Linked DNA regions of Homo sapiens: region 2 is linked to region 1. Evidence: promoter capture Hi-C in 16 types of primary human blood cells and fetal thymus (Javierre and others, 2016). All regions are on one chromosome and are shown on one strand. Each heading gives the region's core, a stretch centred on a gene start or on the middle of the fragment in contact. The rest is flanking DNA. Distances are from core to core; before and after follow the strand shown. Region 1 holds the start of P3R3URF (PIK3R3 upstream open reading frame). Region 2 overlaps IPP (intracisternal A particle-promoted polypeptide).

Evidence for each region. The method cuts DNA at HindIII sites, captures the fragments that hold promoters and counts their contacts. A CHiCAGO score of 5 or more calls a contact.
Region 2: a fragment that was not itself captured here is called in contact with the fragment with the promoter of P3R3URF in region 1 in 1 of 17 cell types (M1 macrophages); the score reaches 5.5 in M1 macrophages.

What each region holds. Positions count from the first base shown.
Region 1 is chr1:46,174,537-46,178,801 of GRCh38, reverse strand. P3R3URF (PIK3R3 upstream open reading frame) reads left to right here and starts at 2,314. Exons shown (of 2, transcript NM_001328655.2): 1 at 2,314-2,574; 2 at 3,173-3,316. The coding sequence starts at 2,331. The coding sequence ends at 3,216. It overlaps P3R3URF-PIK3R3 (P3R3URF-PIK3R3 readthrough), which reads left to right and starts at 2,314. Exons shown (of 10, transcript NM_001303427.2): 1 at 2,314-2,574. The coding sequence starts at 2,331. It overlaps TSPAN1 (tetraspanin 1), which reads right to left and starts at 3,715. Exons shown (of 9, transcript NM_005727.4): 1 at 3,393-3,715. It also overlaps a transcript of PIK3R3 not described here. The HindIII fragment of the contact is 5,416 bases long and covers 1-3,243 here.
Region 2 is chr1:45,740,285-45,744,549 of GRCh38, reverse strand. IPP (intracisternal A particle-promoted polypeptide) reads left to right here. Exons shown (of 9, transcript NM_005897.3): 3 at 3,218-3,649. Among named protein-coding and RNA genes, the nearest start is that of IPP, 8.2 kb to the left of the region's middle. The HindIII fragment of the contact is 9,851 bases long and covers 1-4,265 here.

The sequences.
Region 1 (4,265 bases), core at 1,065-3,564:
CAAAGCCTGTAAGTGGCAGAGCCAGGATTCAATCCCAGTTAGTCTGGCACCAGAGTCTACATCTTAACCACCAAGCAGACTGTCTACACTGATGGAATCTCTAAAGAGGCAGACAAGGCTGGCTTCCATAAAGAGCAAGGGAAGAGGCCTTGGTCTGACCTGAGGAAGAGGAGGAGCAGGGGCAGGTCGGTTTATAGTTACAGTTGCTAGAAGTTGGTGGAAGCAAGGTCATATTTTAAGACTGAGGATGGCAAGAGTAGAGGCTGGAGGAGGGGATGGGGGAAAGATGAGGTTTGTGAGGGTGGTACTAAGGGTGCCACAGAGTCCTCCACAAACAGAAAGGAGGATGAAGTTGGGAAGGGGGCATTTGAGGAGCAGAGTAAGGGGGAAAGGAAGAAGGGACTGAGGAGTGGAAGGAGAAGGAGAAGGTCTATTTTTTTTTTTTTTGACAGAATCTCACTCTGTTGCCCAGGCTGGAATGCAGTGGCGCAATCTTGGCTCACTGCAACCTCCGCCTCCCAGTTTCAAGCGATTCTCCTGCCTCAGCCTCCTGAGTAGCTGGTATTATAGGTGCACACCACCACACCCAGCTAATTTTTGTATTTTTAGTAGAGACAGGGTTTCACCATGTTGACCAGGCTGCTCTCGAGCTCCTGACCTCAAGTCATCCACCCACCTCGGGCTCCCAAAGTGCTGGGATTACAGGCGTGAGCCACCGCACCTGGAACCTTTCTGTTTCATTCTCAGGAAGAATTGGGACCAGATTACATTCATCTATGGCCCTGGTGCTTGGCACATAAGAAGTTGTCAGTGAACATTTCCTGAGTGAATGAGTGCAGAATAATGAGAGTTAAGTGCTCTGGGTTTTGGATCTTGATCATCATGGATTTGCTTCCTGCCTGCCTCTAATTGTGTGACTTCACCTCACTGAGCCCCAGTTTCCTTATACAGTGGATCCTCCTTATTCACAGATTCCATACCTGTGAATTTGCCTGCTTACTGAAATTTATTTGTAATTCCCAAACCAGTACTTGTGGTACTTTTGCAGTCATTCATGGACATGAGCAGAAAGGCAAAAAATTTCAGCCGTCCAACACACGTATTTCCAGCTGAGGTCTGTTGAGCAAGAGGACTCTCTGTCTTCTTATTTCAGTTTTCATAGAGTAAACAAATGTGCTTTTTGGTGGTCTATTTAGTGACGCATATTCTCACATTTTTTGGTGTTTTTTGCTGGTGATTTTACTGTCTAAAATGGTCCCCAGTTGTAGTGCTGAAGTGCTCTCTAGTCTTTCTAAGTGCAAGAAGGCTGTGATGTGCCTTATAGGGGAAATATGTGCTTTAGATAAGTTTCATTCAGGCACAAGTTATAATGCTGTTGGCTGTGAGTTCAATGTCAATGACTCAAATATAGATAGATAGTTAGATAGATAGATAGATAGATAGATAGATATATTTTTTTTTTTTTTGAGACAGAGTTTCACTCTTGTTGCCCAGGCTGGAGTGCAATGGTGCAATCTGGGCTCACTGCAATCTCCACCTCCTGGGTTCAAGCTATTCTCCTGTCTCAGCCTCCTGAGTAGCTGGGACTACAGGCACCCACCACCACACCCAGCTAATTTTTGTATTTTTAGTAGAGATGGGGTTTTGCCATGTTAACCAGGCTAGTCTTGAACTCCTGACCTCAGGTGATCTGCCCACCTCGGCCTCCCAAAGTGCTGGGATTACAGGCTTGAGCCACCATGCCTGGCCAACAATATATATTAAATAAGGTGTCTCCACACATAAAATCAGGTTATATGTATAGATCAGTTGACAAAAATATTGTGACCAGAGGGTTTCAGGAACCTAACCTTGCATTTACCCTTTGTTCAGTATTTAGTGTTTGTGGCGACTTTATAGAACATTACTGGGAATAATGAGAATTGACTGTATATAAATAGGTATAATGATGGCATATCCTTGTAAAGTAGCTGAGATTAAATGAGATAACGTTGGTAAAGTGCTCAGCACAGTGTCTGGCACGTAGTAAGTGCTCAAAAAACATTGTTAATATTGTTACTATATGGATAAGTGAGAAAGTGAGGAAGTGAGTTCCGCCTCTAGGGCCTCTTTTCCCAAGGGGCCAAACTGAGGCTGTCTGGCTCTTGGGCTGGCTTTTAGGCCAGACCCAATAAAGAAGATTGTGAAGGAGCCTGACCCATGAGGAGGGGCCAGGGCCCACGACTTGTAATAAAGGGCCCTGCCCTTATGCAGACTTTGTATGTCATAGAGGCCTCAGCTACCCTGGCCAACAGCACCCCCCAGGCACACTGCAGAAGCTCCCTGTGCCCATGGGGCCATCTCGGCTTGTCCGTGGCCCTCGGCCCCAGGGCATGCGTTCCCCCTACCGCAGGCCAGGTATGGGCTGGCCCAGGCCCCGATTTCCCAGGATGTTCAAGTGTAGCCGCAGAAGATATCAACAGGGTCTCCGAGGTCGAACTGCCAGCAGTGCAGCCATCAATCCTGCCACCAGGGCCATGGGTATCAACAACACCCACACTGACACCACCATAGTGTGGATCTTCCCACCTCAAGGTTAGCCAGGGGGCCTGTGAGCCAGGGTGGGGTTTTAAAAAACAGAGCCACTAGGCTGGGTGCGGTGGCTCATGCCTGTAATCCCGGCACTTTGGGAGGCCAAGGCGGGCAGATCACAAGGTCAGGAGATCGAGACCATCCTGGCTAACACGGTGAAATCCCATCTCTACTAAAAATACAAAAAAAAATTAGCCGGGCGTGGTGGCACACGCCTTTAGTCCCAGCTACTTGGGAGGCTGAGGCAGGAGAATTGCTTGAACCCGGGAGGCAGAGGTTGCAGTGAGCCAAGATCGCGCCACTGCACTCCAGCCTGGGTGACAGAGCTAGACTCTGTCTCAAGAAAAAAAAAAAAAAACCAGAGCCAGTGAAGATTTCCCTACCTGGTTCTGTTTAGGCACGCCAAAGGATGATCTCTGTGAAATAGCACCCCTACATATATGGGGGACTCCTGATGGCAGGCACCCCAAAGTGCTGACAGCCTTAATGGAGGATGGATTGGCTGGAAGCAGAGGGTTTGGGGAGGGGCTGAATCCAAGAGGCAGGGAACTTCCAGAACTGCTTCCTTCCTCAAACTCTTCCCTCTCCTTCCTCTCCTCAGTTCTCAGACATCTCAGGCAACCTGGGATTTTTCTGATCCTCTAGAAGTGCCCAGAAGCTAGCCCAGAAGCTTGGTTTGCCCTGGACCTGCATCTCCTAGGGGCCGTGTGGGTGGTGAACAACAAATACAGTCATTCTGCTCAAACTGCCTTATTCCACACAGAGGTGTTAACCAGCTGACTATGCAGGGCGTGAGGGGAGGGTTATGGCTGAATACTTACAGGGAAAGGCTTCAGTGACCGCAGCAGGGATCATAGTTTAAGACAGCAGGAGGACAGGACAAGGTCAGCAACATAGACCATCTTTGGTCTCAGCTCTTGATCTGCCCCATGAAGTAGGGGCTCTCTTGCCTTACACTCCTAACTGCACAGGGAGAAGGGTCTCTGTAAACATCTTGGAAGGTATTGGGAGGCACAGATCAGAGAGGGATAGGATGAAAGACTGAACCCTGAGAGTACACAAGTATGAGGTGGATGTGAGGTGGATGTGCCTCTGTGTGCCTGTGATGGTCAGCGTGTAGGTGTAGCTGCTGGTGTGTGTGTCTGAGGCCGGGAGAATAGGAGTATCAGTAGATGTGGCTGAATGTGCCTTTGTGATTTAATGTGCCTCTGTGACTGACTGTGAGTGTCAAGGAGCGTTTGTGAGGGTATGGGTGTGCCGGAGAGGACATCAGCCCTGGTAAGAAAAGTGAAGGTCAGGAGGGGGATGGGGAACAGCCTAAAGGAGGAGAACATGGAGAAGGGTGAGATTCTGAGAAAGGCATACTACCTTCGGCCCTTCAACCATTCTCTGAGGTCAGTGTTTTCCAGAACTGGCAGCTGAGCTGGGGTGCTTAGGGGTGGGGCAAGACTGAGTTTGAGCCCAGAAAGTAGGGAGGGTGCTAAGCTCTCTGGCCTGGGGATTTTCCATTTGGATTTCTGAGTGTGTGCTCATGTGTCACTGGCTGTAACCGGGTTTCTGTGGGGTTGTGTCTTAGTCGCTGGGAACATTTTGTAGGACTCTGTCTCGAATATGTTGCATCATGCATGGGCTAATACGTGTTGCACCGGTCCGAGATCTGGCTGCATTTCCAGGCTACCTTCCCAAGGGGCTAG
Region 2 (4,265 bases), core at 1,197-3,696, 430 kb after region 1:
TTTTTTTTAATTAGCTGGGTGTGTGGCTTGTGTCTTTAGTCCCAGCTAACGGGAGGCTGATGTGGGAGGATCCAGGAGTTTGAGGCTGCAGTGAGCTATGATCAAGCTGCTGCACCCTGGACTGGGAGACAGAGTGAGACCCCATCTCTGAATAAAATAAAACAACTGGAATGATGAAGAGGGGAGTAGGGGAAGGGGAAAGAAAGAGAAGGCACACCAAAACGATGTATAGTCTTACAGGATATGCAATAAATATGCATAGAAAAAAGATTTGAAAGGCTGAGATGGGATGATCACTTGAGCCCAGGATGCTGCGGCTTCAGTGAGTGATGATCATGCTACTGCACTCCAGCCTGGGCAACAGAACAAGACACTGTCTCAAAAAGAGAGAGAGAAAAACTATGTGAAGAAAGACACTACAGTGTTAATACAATGTATGTCTGTGTATGGAAAAATATGTTTTTCATTTTAGTTTTTCTGTCTTAAAGTTCTTTTTCCACAGTGAATATATATTACTCTTTTTTTTTTTTTTGGTGACGGGGTTTCACTTTGTCGCCCAGGCTGGAGTATAGTGGCACAATCTTGGCTCACTGCAACGTCTGCCTCCCAGTTTCAAGCGATTCTCCTGCTTCAGCCTCCCAAGTAGCTGGGATTATAGGCTTGCACTAACATGCCCAGCTAATTTTTGTATTTTTTTTTTTAGTAGAGACGGGTTTTCACCATGTTGGCCCGGCTGGTCTCAAACTCCTGACCTCAAGTGATCCACTCACCTCAGCTTCCTAAAGTTCTGGGATTACAGGGGAGAGCCACTGTGCCCAGCCTCTTTTATTTTTTATTTTGTGAGACAGAGTCTTGCTTTGTCACCCACGCTGGAATGCAGTGGCAAAATCATTGCAGCTTGACCTCCAGGGCTCAAGCTATCCTCCCACCTCAGCCTCCTGAGTACCTGTAGGACCACAACACACACCACCATGCCTGGCTAATTTTTAAATTTTTTTTGTAGAGATTATGTCTAGCTATGTTGCCCAGACTGGTCTCAAACTCCTAGGCTCAAGCAATCCTCCCACCTCAGCCTCCCTAGTAGCTGAGACTACAGGCGCACATGCTACCACACCTGGCTAATTTTTTTTTTTTTGAGGCGGAGTCTTGCTGGGCTTAGTGGCGCACACCTGTAGTCCCAGCTACTCAGGAGGCTGAGCCAGGAGAATTGCTTGAACCTGGGAGGCAGAGGTTGCAGTGAGCAGAGACCATGCCACTGTACTCTAGCCTGGGCAACAGAGCAAGAGCCTGTCTCAGAAAAAAAAAAAAAAAAAGATGGGTGTGGTGGCTCACGCCTGTAATCCCAGCACTTTGGGAGGCTGAGGTGGGTGGATCACCTGAGGCCAGGAGTTCGAGACCAGCCTGACCAACATGGTGAAACCTCGTCCCTACTGAAAATACAAAAATTAGCTGGTTATGGTGGTGCGCATCTGTAATCCTGGCTACTTAGGAGGCTGAGGCAGGAAAATCACTTGAACCCAGGAGGTGTTGGTTGTAGTGGGCCGAGGATGCACCACTATACTCCAACCTGGGTGACATAGTGAGACTCTGTCTCGAAAAAAATAAAAAAATAAAAAAATAAAAAAAAGAAAGTGAAGCCCTTGGAAAAGAAAGTGGTATACGTAGTTAAGTATTTAATAGTTTCTCTTATGTTATAGATTATTGGTTATTCCTAATATTAAAAACTAGCATTGTGTATAATCCCTGCACTTTGGGAGGCTGAGGTGGGTGGATTGCTTGAGCCCAGGAGTTTGAGATCAGCCTGGGCAATGCGGCAAAACCCTGTCTCTAAAAAAAAAACCACAGAAAATTAGCCGATCATGGTGGTGAGTGTCTGTAGTACCAGCTACTCGGGAGGTTGAGGTGGGAGGCTCACCTGAGCGTGGGAGGCAGAGGTTGCAGTGGGCCAAGATTGCGCCACTGCACTCCAGCCTGGACAACAGAATGAGACACTGTCTCAAAACAAGCACAAACAAAAAATGAACATTATGTGGCGTTTTATCATAATTGAAGATAGAGACCTTGTCTTACTCTCCCCAGTGCCTCAGTAAATGTCTGTTACATGCATATAACCTTATGTTAAAAGCATAGACTTTATTTGTTGTTGTTGCTGTTGTTGTTTGTTTTTTTTCTTTCCAACTTTTAGGTTCAAGAGGTACATATGCGGGTTTGTTCCATGGGTAAATTGTGTGTCTTGGGGGCTTGGTATGTAGATAATTTTGTCCCCCAGTTAATCAGTATAATACCTGATAGGTAGTTTTTCAATCTTTACCCTCCTCCTACCCTCCACTCTCAAGTAGGCCCGAATGTGTATCCATGTCTTCTTGGTGTCCACGTGTATGCAATGTTTAGCTCCCATTTATGAGTGAGAACATATGATATTTGGTTTTCTGTACTTGTGTTAATTTGCTTAGAATCATGGCCTCCAGCTCCATCTGTGTTGCTGTAAAGCACATGATTTCCTTCTTTTTTATGGCAAAAGCATGGACTTTGATGTCAACCCCTACCTTGCAACTTGCTTTACCATGCAACTTGTGGACAAGTGACTTAAACTTTGATTCTGTTTCTTTAATATGAAAATAAGGCTGGGCGCGGTGGCTCACGCCTGTAATCCCAGCACTTTGGGAGGCCGAGGCGGGCGGATCACAAGGTCAGGAGATCGAGACCATCTTGGCTAACACGGTGAAACCCCGTCTCTACTAAAAATACAAAAAATTAGCCGGGCGCAGTGGCGGGCGCCTGTAGTCCCAGCTACTCGGGAGGCTGAGGCAGGAGAATGGCGTGAACCTGGGAGGCGGAGCTTGCAGTGAGCCAAGATTGTGCCACTGCAATCCGGCCTGGGCTAAAGAGCGGGACTCCGTCTCAAAAAAAAAAAAAAAAAAAAAAAGAAAATAAGAAAAATAATAATATCTACCACATGGGATTATAATAAGGGTTAAATTAGCATATAAAGCAATTAATACTGCACCTGGTTCATTGTAAGTTTTTCATAAATGTGTTAGGTATCGTTATCGTTTAAATTTTGTGCTCTTTACTCAAATCCTTGATTGCCTTTTTTAGTGTCTGTCTACTCTGCAGGCATCAAACTATCAGTGAAATCAAGTATAATACTTTTTGAATATGGTAAGCCAATGTTTGTTTTTATTTTATTGGCCATTTTGTCTTCCTACTTCTCTAGGTATAGTGAACATAGGTGTGAATAATGTCCAGGAGTTGATTATTGCAGCAGACATGCTACAGTTGACTGAAGTTGTTCATCTTTGCTGTGAATTTCTGAAAGGACAAATTGATCCACTGAACTGCATTGGAATTTTTCAGTTCTCTGAGCAAATTGCCTGCCATGATCTCTTGGAATTCTCAGAAAACTACATTCATGTCCATTTCTTGGAGGTTCATAGTGGAGAAGAGTTCCTGGCACTTACGAAAGATCAGCTGATCAAAATTTTGCGAAGTGAAGAGCTTAGCATTGAGGATGAATACCAGGTCTTCTTAGCTGCAATGCAATGGATTCTGAAAGATTTGGGAAAAAGAAGAAAACATGTGGTGGAAGTGCTAGACCCAATTCGATTCCCTTTATTACCTCCTCAGAGACTTTTAAAGTATATAGAAGGTAACTTTTTTGCTATATATCGAATTAGTTGATTAATTATCCAGTGATGTGTTCTCTGAAATGTGGGAGAGTGTTTTCATTTTTTGGTTCAGTAACAGACATTTATTGAATGATTACTCTTTTTTTTTCTTTTTTTAAAATGTATTGAATGATTAAGATACAACTTTTGTGTTCTGTGGGTGGGCAGTAGTATTTTAATATTTCTACCCACTATTTTTATCAAAATCTTTCTTGAGATTGATTACTAAGGCAGATTAGTGTTATAGATAAAAATTACTGACAGAGCTACTAACATACCACTGCTGTTGACAGAACCAATTATTTCAGTTAAGATTTCCTAGGGGGGGTCAGCCCCCCGCCCGGCCAGCCGCCCTGTCTGGGAGGGAGGTGGGGGGGTCAGCCCCCCGCCCGGCCAGCCGCCCCGTTCGGGAGGGAGATGGGGGGTTCAGCCCCCCGCCCGGCCAGCCGCCCCGTCCGGGAGGTGAGGGGCGCCTCTGCCCGGCCGCCCCTACTGGGAAGTGAGGAGCCCCTCTGCCCAGCCACCACCCTGTCTGGGAGGTGTACCCAACAGCTCATTGAGAACGGGCCATGATGACAATGGCGGTTTTGTGGAATA